3 separate regions of the Homo sapiens genome follow, and regions 1 and 3 are each linked to region 2. The links are contacts of gene promoters, found by promoter capture Hi-C in blood cells and fetal thymus (Javierre and others, 2016). All regions are on one chromosome and are shown on one strand. Each heading gives the region's core, a stretch centred on a gene start or on the middle of the fragment in contact. The rest is flanking DNA. Distances are from core to core; before and after follow the strand shown. Region 1 has its middle 37 kb from the start of CPXM2. Region 2 holds the start of GPR26 (G protein-coupled receptor 26). Region 3 has its middle 56 kb from the start of CPXM2.

The links. Contacts are between HindIII fragments. The CHiCAGO score rates a contact against its expected background, and 5 or more counts as called.
Region 1: a contact is called between a fragment that was not itself captured here and the fragment with the promoter of GPR26 in region 2, in 1 of 17 cell types (endothelial precursors). The highest score is 6.3, in endothelial precursors.
Region 3: a contact is called between a fragment that was not itself captured here and the fragment with the promoter of GPR26 in region 2, in 1 of 17 cell types (endothelial precursors). The highest score is 7.3, in endothelial precursors.

What each region holds. Positions count from the first base shown.
Region 1 is chr10:123,927,574-123,930,372 of GRCh38, forward strand. It overlaps a transcript of CPXM2 not described here. Among named protein-coding and RNA genes, the nearest start is that of CPXM2, 37 kb to the left of the region's middle. The HindIII fragment of the contact is 4,757 bases long and covers 1-2,799 here.
Region 2 is chr10:123,664,820-123,667,669 of GRCh38, forward strand. GPR26 (G protein-coupled receptor 26) reads left to right here and starts at 1,536. Exons shown (of 3, transcript NM_153442.4): 1 at 1,536-2,256. The coding sequence starts at 1,589. RefSeq lists enhancers at 744-1,281, 1,282-1,820, 1,821-2,358. The HindIII fragment of the contact is 9,100 bases long and covers 1-2,850 here.
Region 3 is chr10:123,946,877-123,949,696 of GRCh38, forward strand. No RefSeq gene overlaps it. Among named protein-coding and RNA genes, the nearest start is that of CPXM2, 56 kb to the left of the region's middle. RefSeq lists an enhancer at 1,553-2,233. The HindIII fragment of the contact is 2,245 bases long and covers 202-2,446 here.

The DNA of each region.
Region 1 (2,799 bases), core at 171-2,670, 260 kb after region 2:
AGCCAGGATTTATACCAAGCAAGTGAGCTCTGGAGTCCAGGTGCTTACCTGTTGCTCATGCGGCCTTAGGGCTCCCAACTGCACCTGGTTCATTAGCTCCCAGTAGCTGTTAACAACTATTCTCATTGGCCAGACACCTGCCACTCTGGAAGTAACTGCTTGTGCAATCACTGCACCAGGCTTTGTTACCCCCAGATGAGTACAAATGGGTCACGTTCATAATTTCTTCCAACATTTGTGTGGTTTTAGTTCCCACCTACTTGTTAGCAAGATATCCAATCTCGTTTCCCTGGATCTCCCTTTCGGGAATTTTCTCCAGGAACCCCCCAGTGTTGGGGGTAGGTACCAGGCACTTCCATTCTCTTTGCCCACCCAGGATCTGCACACCCCTGAGGACTAACACACTCAACTGTGCCCCCACCTCCTGGCCTATTCATGAGTGTCAATGCCCACATTAACACACAGCACAGAGCTTGTCTGCCAAACCTCCTGGCTGGGGCACCCACTCCCCTCCACCACCATGTACTCCTATCAGCCTGCCTTCTGCGAGACCTTCATAGACCACAGATTCATGCTTGGAAACTGGTTTCTTGAGTGCTGAACAAGGGAGGCCACCAGAGAGCTTTGATTCACCACAAAGATTGTCCGTGGACACCTGGCCTGGCCAACCTCAATAGCTGGTTCCAAACCTCTCCAAAAACTCTTCAAAGACAGCCAGAGTGGATGGTCTGATGACCCCTGGGAGTGGTGGACTGTTTCTGTATTTTGAGATGCAGATTTTAAATGACTGCAATTTAAAATTGGTGAATTTTATTCTATGTGAATTATGTCTCAACAAAGCAGAATACACCAACACATGTGGCCACAGCATGCTCTTCTTATAATATGGCCTTGACACTGCTCTATCAAATTGTGGCATCTCTCTCCCCTCCCCTTGATCCTATGTTGACCAACAGATGATGGTAGAAACATCCCTATCTCTATGTGACTTCTGAGACAAGGTCAGAAAATTCTGCTTTGTTCTGTTAGGACATTCATGCTTGGAAGCTAGCCACCATGCTGTGAGGAAGCCCAAGCAGCCACACGGAGATGCTATCTCTGGGTGTTCCCGCTAACAGCCCTGGCTGAGATCTCAGGTAATAGCCAGCATCAAATGTTCAACATGAGTGAATGAGCCTTCAGATGACTCCATCCCACAGCCATTTAGTCCCCTAGCCTTTGAGGCTTCCCAGACATCAGAGATAGGAATAAGCCATTCCCACTGGCTTCTGTCCAAATTACTGGTTCACAAAATCCATGGCCGTTGAAAAATATACTTGGTTTATGCCACTAAGTTTGAGGTGGTTTATTATACAACAGTGGTAACTGGGAGATGGGGCTTCCCCAGAAGATCCTGGGAAGACTGTGGTCCTGAGTGGAGCAGGGGGGCACTCCTACAGGGGGCCTATAGCTGGTACCTCTCCTAGGCAGGAGTCCAGGACAGGGAATCCTGGAGAAGCCAGCAGGTTTGAAGCCAGGAGACATCTGAGACCTTGTTGGGAGATCAGAGAAAGGATCTGTCAGAGGTGACAGGATGGGGCAGGCAGTGCCAGGACAGATGATGGCTCAGCATGCAAACTGGACTGCTTTTGGGTGGCCACAGTTAGGGACCTGAGGAGCCAATGGGCTGGGGCACTGGCAGAGTGCAGGGAGGATGAATTTCGGAGGATTCATGAGGCCAGACCCCGGGCCCATGGGAGGGCACTGGTGCCTTGGCAATCCTTCCCCTGGAGTGAATGAGGCTGACTCAGCTTCTAGGAGCTGGGGGCTTCCTGGTCAGCACCACTGATGGCTTTATGGGCCAGAGTCCCTCCAGTCTTTGACAAAAGTGAAATTGCAGAACAGCAACTGAATCTGAGAAGAGACCAGATAAACTGAGGAGCTACAAACAAGGCTAGGAGGAGGAAAGCCAGGAGGCCACCATGGAAGAAACCTCATTTTCTCCCTGCCCTCGCTGTTTCACTTCCTTTTGGATCCCAGTGTAGAGTGGGTGCTCTGGCCAGAGTCCTCATTTCTGCTTCTCCCCACCCACCCTCACCCCCACTATTCCTGCTGGGAAGGGTCCCTTTGCCTTCTGCAAGCCTTATTTTAAAATGGCTACCTGCAAGGAACCTGCTGCCCCTTTGGTGGTAGCCCAGAAAGGCAAGCAGGTCCTGTCTTAGAGCGGGGTGTGCACCCACACAGATACACAGCCCGCCCCTGCCAGCTCTGGATCCCTGCCAAAGACCCCATCTGTAATCAGAAAGGGACAAGAAGCCTGGGGTCACAGCTCCAACCACCGGGTCATGCTTCCTTCCTTGGGTAGGGCGTCCCTGGTGTGCCCAGAGCTGCTGCTGAAGCAGAGGTGACAGAGGTTCCCACCACCTCCCCTCCCAGGCATCTGCTGTGGGCGTGGCTGCCCAGCCCGTCCTGGGCCATCTCTGTCCCCTGAAGAACCTGGCTCCCCTCCACCCCTGTCTTCCACGCAGCCACCAGCCTGGTCCTTTTCTCACACCTGATACACGAAGCACACTGAAAAGGCCACCTCACAGTGACACACTTTGATAGCTTGAGTTCTCAGCTCTCCTGGGAAAATTCATGCCTGAGTACACGTGGGCCCTGTAAGGCAATCCCAGACCCCTCTCCTGGGCTTTTGCTCAAACCTCCATCCCACAGCCCTGCTTCAAAGTTACTCTTTGAGACTTTCTGTTTGCTCCCCGCAGCACCATCTGAACTGGAGGCAGAGGTGCTGTCCTCAGGAGAAAAACATACTGGGGTGTG
Region 2 (2,850 bases), core at 286-2,785:
TCACCACTGGCCACACCAGGAGGCTCCAGAACAGGGCTTTCTATGTCCAGGACAGGGATCTGAGGTTGCTGACATGGTGCAGGGGGTCACTGCAGGGCAGCATCTCACAGAGTTGAAGGGGGCTGCAGGGGTTCTGAGAGCTGCCCCTGCCTGTCCATCCCCACCCCTTCCCCACAGAGTCTTGGTTGAGAACCGAAGGGCCACAGTCCCTGCACACTTTGCTGAGGGGAGGCAGGGGTCCCCTGTGTCCAGGGTCTCTGTTGCTTGGACCATGCCTGCCAGCTGACACCCTCCCCATTTTCTGAAGAGTTCTGGCACCTTATATCAGGCAGGTCCCTCATAAACTAGAATGTGCTGCCTCACCAGTCTCAGGGCAGAGGGGTGTGTGGCTTCAGGGCTACAGGAGGCAGCTGCTGGAACTTGGAGCAGGACAACAGAGTATCCACCATACTAGGGTTAGCTGTCTAGGCTGGTTGTGGACAGCCTGGCTTGCCCAGGTGGGAGCAGTCAGGGTCAGCAAAGGCATCTCCCAGCTGGAGAGATGCCCAGGGGATGTTACAGAGAGCCTCGGGGTCCCTGCAGCAGGCTTAGGATTCAGCCGAAGCTCTGGCTGTAGGGCGAGGGAAAGAAGGCACTGAGAATCGAGTAACCTCAGTCATGCAGCAGCTGTTCTTGGGACAGACAGGCTGGGACACTCACGTCAAGGTCTGCCAGGATAGCATGCAGGCGGGGACAGGTGGCACTGGGGCGTGAAGGTGTCCAGGCATCCCTTCCTTTTCTCAGAGAGATTTCCTTGACTCAGCCTGTCTTTGACACACACGGGGGGATGGAGGATGTTGGGGGAAGGGAGCCACAGTGAGCCAATCACCCTGCACCGGAGCCTTCGGGGCTGGTTCCCTCCGAGCCTGTAAGTGTGAGTGTGTGTGCGCGAGTGTGTCTGTGTGTGCACCAGTGGGGATTTCTGTGATAGAAGCAGCCAGATTCCAGAGACAGAGAGAAGAGGAGGGGGAAGAACAAGAGAGGGGAGAAAATTGGGGGTGGGAGAGACAGACGGAGAGAACAGCGCGGGGGGCGGGGAGAGGGAGAGAGGTGGAGGGGAGAGCAGAGAGAGAGAGAGCGAGCCAGAGAGCAGAGAGGGAGGAAGAGAGAAAGCAAGAGAGCGGGAGGGTGCGCGGAGCGGAGCGGAGACAGAGCTCGCGGGCATGGGGTGAGAGCGGGAGGAAGCAGAGGCAGAGGCGGAGCAGGGGCGCAGGTGCCTGCAACCCAGGATCCCGGGGCGCTAAAGGCTTCGGGTTCTACCGCACGCTCAGTCGCTGGCTCCAGAGGTGCTGCTGGGGGCCAGGGTTCACTGCCGCGCGCCAGGTGCCTGCCCGTGAGGCGGCGCGGGGCTCCCGGGTGGCTGCGCGCCCAGACGCCTGCCCGGGAGGCCGCCTGAGGCTCCGGGGTGGCCGCGCGCCCTCCTGGGAGCCATGGCGGCTGGGGCCGGTGGTCGCCGGGCGGCGGCGGCGCCGAGGGGCTGAGCCGGCCGCGGGCAGCGCCATGGCGGCGCCGGGTTGCGGACCCTGAGCGCCGGCGCGGGGCGCGCACCATGAACTCGTGGGACGCGGGCCTGGCGGGGCTACTGGTGGGCACGATGGGCGTCTCGCTGCTGTCCAACGCGCTGGTGCTGCTCTGCCTGCTGCACAGCGCGGACATCCGCCGCCAGGCGCCGGCGCTCTTCACCCTGAACCTCACGTGCGGGAACCTGCTGTGCACCGTGGTCAACATGCCGCTCACGCTGGCCGGCGTCGTGGCGCAGCGGCAGCCGGCGGGCGACCGCCTGTGCCGCCTGGCTGCCTTCCTCGACACCTTCCTGGCTGCCAACTCCATGCTCAGCATGGCCGCGCTCAGCATCGACCGCTGGGTGGCCGTGGTCTTCCCGCTGAGCTACCGGGCCAAGATGCGCCTCCGCGACGCGGCGCTCATGGTGGCCTACACGTGGCTGCACGCGCTCACCTTCCCAGCCGCCGCGCTCGCCCTGTCCTGGCTCGGCTTCCACCAGCTGTACGCCTCGTGCACGCTGTGCAGCCGGCGGCCAGACGAGCGCCTGCGCTTCGCCGTCTTCACTGGCGCCTTCCACGCTCTCAGCTTCCTGCTCTCCTTCGTCGTGCTCTGCTGCACGTACCTCAAGGTGCTCAAGGTGGCCCGCTTCCATTGCAAGCGCATCGACGTGATCACCATGCAGACGCTGGTGCTGCTGGTGGACCTGCACCCCAGGTGAGCCGAGCGCAGCTAAGGCTCTGGGAACAGCCGCGCGGGATCTCGGCGGGAGTGGGAGGTCCCTAGCCCCAGGGGCTCTTTTCCACCGAGCCTCTGTTTCTTCTGAGAACTCGAGGGTGGGGAAAGCGGCCCAGCTGTGGGGCTTAAGGAGGTGCTTAGGGTATCAGCAAACCAGGGCCACAAAAAATGCGGGTGAGCCCATCTATACATCGGTTTTTGAAGCATCAGGGTAGAAATCACAGACAGTCAGAACTCTGTTGGGCTTCTTCATGCACATTTTCTGTGTTTGTAGCTTTCACTTTAAATGGCACATGGGAAGTCCGTGGTCTTTGTTCCCTATTAAAGACCTTCAAAGTGTTTGATTCTGGCCGAGAGGGCGGCCTCGATGCTTAGGGAGCTCCTTAAGAGCTTTTCAGACCCAAGTGTGTCGCTTCTCTGAGTCTTTCCCTTCTCGGGTGTGTGGCGCTGCCTCTGTCTCACGACTGTGTGTGTGTGTGTGTGTGTGTGTGTGTGTGTGTGTGTGAATTCTGATGGACTCGGGCTGCGTCCTTCTCTGTGGTGGGCCCTGAGGGGTGGGGTGGGGGGCTCTTC
Region 3 (2,820 bases), core at 74-2,573, 280 kb after region 2:
CACATCCCTGCCTCTTGAATTGTGCCCAGGGATTCCAGATCCTTCTCTCTTATGCAAAGCATAGCTGTCAATAGATGACCAAGTATAAGGGCTTGTTTTCAGAGTAGTCTTGGGAGAGAGGGAAGAGGGGAGGTATTTGCCTTTGTGAGGGGTTGAGGGTGGGGGCTGAGCTTAGAACTGGGAGACTAAGCTTAGGTGGGAAGCTTACGGGACCAGGCTCTAGCAGATTCTGCTGTGGGTGCTTGGGCAGTGCTGAGACCATTTAGCCCCCTGCAACAACTGGGGAAGGGAGGAGGGCAGGCAGACGTGGACCTGGGCACGCCAGGGACACAGACCTTTCGCCATCTCCAGCACTCAGGTTTTTCTGCTTCTCCAGAACTGAATTGGCACGTGGGTGGTCAGAGTCAAGAACATCTCTTTGAGTCGTAACAGAGAAAAGGTATTGAGTATTAGCAGGGGAGAGTTACTGAAACAAAGAAATGCCTTAAAGTATTCATATTCTCAGTGACAAGCAACATAATTCAGCAGGCATCATTGAAACTGTCGGGGAGAAAACTCCTGGCAAGTTTCTATGGCATAAGCATCAACAATGGCAGCTGATTTTACAAGTCCCGTTGTTACTCACCGAAGATGTTTACAGTGGATTGGACATTTTCTTCATTCCTTGTGCTGTCACTCTCAAGCTCCTACAGAAGCCACTGCGGGCCCCACACAGCATGCGCCCCTCCATTCTCCCCAGCACTGCCTGAAAGCAGCCCTGACAAGCCTCACCTGCATTCACAAGGCTTCCTCCCAACTGCTTTCCTGCCTCCGCCTTTTCTTCCTCTAACACATGCTCCACAGCCACTGTGATCTTTTAAACTCACATTTATAGCCATGTCAATCTTCTGCTTCAAACCCTCTGAAGGCTGCCCATTCCCCTCAAGATAAAGCTCATCTCCCTTAGTGGGGCAGGGTCACCCTGCTCAGTTATTTGAGTTGTGCACTGCACAAGTGTAGGGGTGCTCTGAGACACATCTGTACTCCACGCCCATGAAAGTAACACAGAGAGAGACCTTCGAGGCCTTCAGGTCCCCAAATCTCTCTGGCCTAACGTGTCACCGTCTTTGACAGACGCTTTCTATCCAGCCACTTAGAATTCCCAGTCCATGCGGCTCGGTCCCTTCTGCTTGGAACTCCTCCCCACTCCCTTCTTCCTCCAGGTGTTTCCCATTCACCCTTCTTCCTCCAGGTGTTTCCCATTCATCCTTCACAGCTCAGTTCAGCATCACGTCCTCCAGGAGGCTGCCCCATCCCCTTGCCAATTCTCTCTGCTCCTCCTACACCCACCAGGTGGCTGTGGTTTCTCTAATACCCACATCAAAGCACAGGTCACTCTGTGCTCTGCCTACACCATGAGTTCCCGGAGGATGACTACGTCTCGGGAGATGGGAGGTGAGATTTGGACTGTCCCTCATAGAGCAGGTGGGCCCAGAAGCAGAGGCACAGATGGCTACCCCTCAGCCAGAGGAAGGCCATGAGGGAAAAGCTGCAGGAAGCCAGAGGGAAACTGAGGCCAGGATCAGGGCTCTGAGGCTGATAAACCTATCAACCAGGGTCACCATGGGAAAACTGAAGCAAAGATGGCAGGTAGTTGCTGAAAATATTCACTGACCCCTTCCCCAACCCGTCTCCGTCCCTTCCCCCCACCACACTGCTCATCTCCAGCCAGGCCTTTTCTGGGCCACAGCCACCAACTCCTACTCACCCCAGGGCCAACAAGACACGTGCTAACTCAGCCTGGCACAAATGCCCTGGGAAGGGCCTGGGTGGCAAAGGGTTAAGATGGGCAGGCTCAATGCAAATGGCACCACTGGCCTGTGGGAATGGTGCAGGCCTAGGGTTTGATCCAGCTCATCATTATAATATACGATGTTAATGGGGCTCAAAGAACTAAGGTGAAGGGTGCCCTTTAATCCCCTTGAGGTAAGATGCAGATCCCCAGCTTGGCTGGAGACACAATATTCTCTCCTAGACCATCGGGAGCTTGACCCATGGGCACTGGCAATGAACCTCTCAGAATCCTTGTTTACCTACAAGAGATAATAAAACCGCATAATCACGGAAATGAATACGCATAGTCACAGAGATCAACCAAGAGTGACTGAATCTTCCATTCTGCTGGAATGATTAAAATTCTCCAGATGGGTCTTTGCTGTAAGAGGTCAGATAATTGGATTCTCTCTAAAGGGAGAGCTCTTTCCTTCTGCATCCACAGAGCAAATACCTATTTGAGAGTTCAGGCCCGGGAGGCCCTGTGGGGTGGGCAATGACAACTTCGGAGCACGCAGGGGTGCGGGTCCGGGGATGGACACAGGAAGAACAGGCCAGGGCAGTGACATGACCTCACATCAAGGAAGCCAGGCTCTTGTTTGGTTTTGTTTTTAAATAAAACTGCTATGTTAAAAGCTTTTTGTTCTATACTGAGTTTCTAAATCTTGGGCTTCTTTTTTCTTTAAATGACAAACAGATCATGATGAAGGCATTTTGTTATGTATGTTAAATGCAGACATTTCCAGAGAAAACAAATAAAAGGCAGACATAACACAGGCTTATGCGTCTGTGCTCAGATGCTTGTGCATTCGCTCAGTTACTTAAATGAAGTCAGTTTCTATCGTCTTGTATTACGCAGAAAGGGGAGTATTTTCGAAGCCCTTTCTCAATTAAAGGGGAATGGATCTGTCCGATCTTTTCTCCAACATGGTTTTACAACAGGGTCCTTTCCTCCCTGCCCCACTCCTTCTGTAGGAGTTGACTGCTTCTTCCCTCTTGGTATTTAAT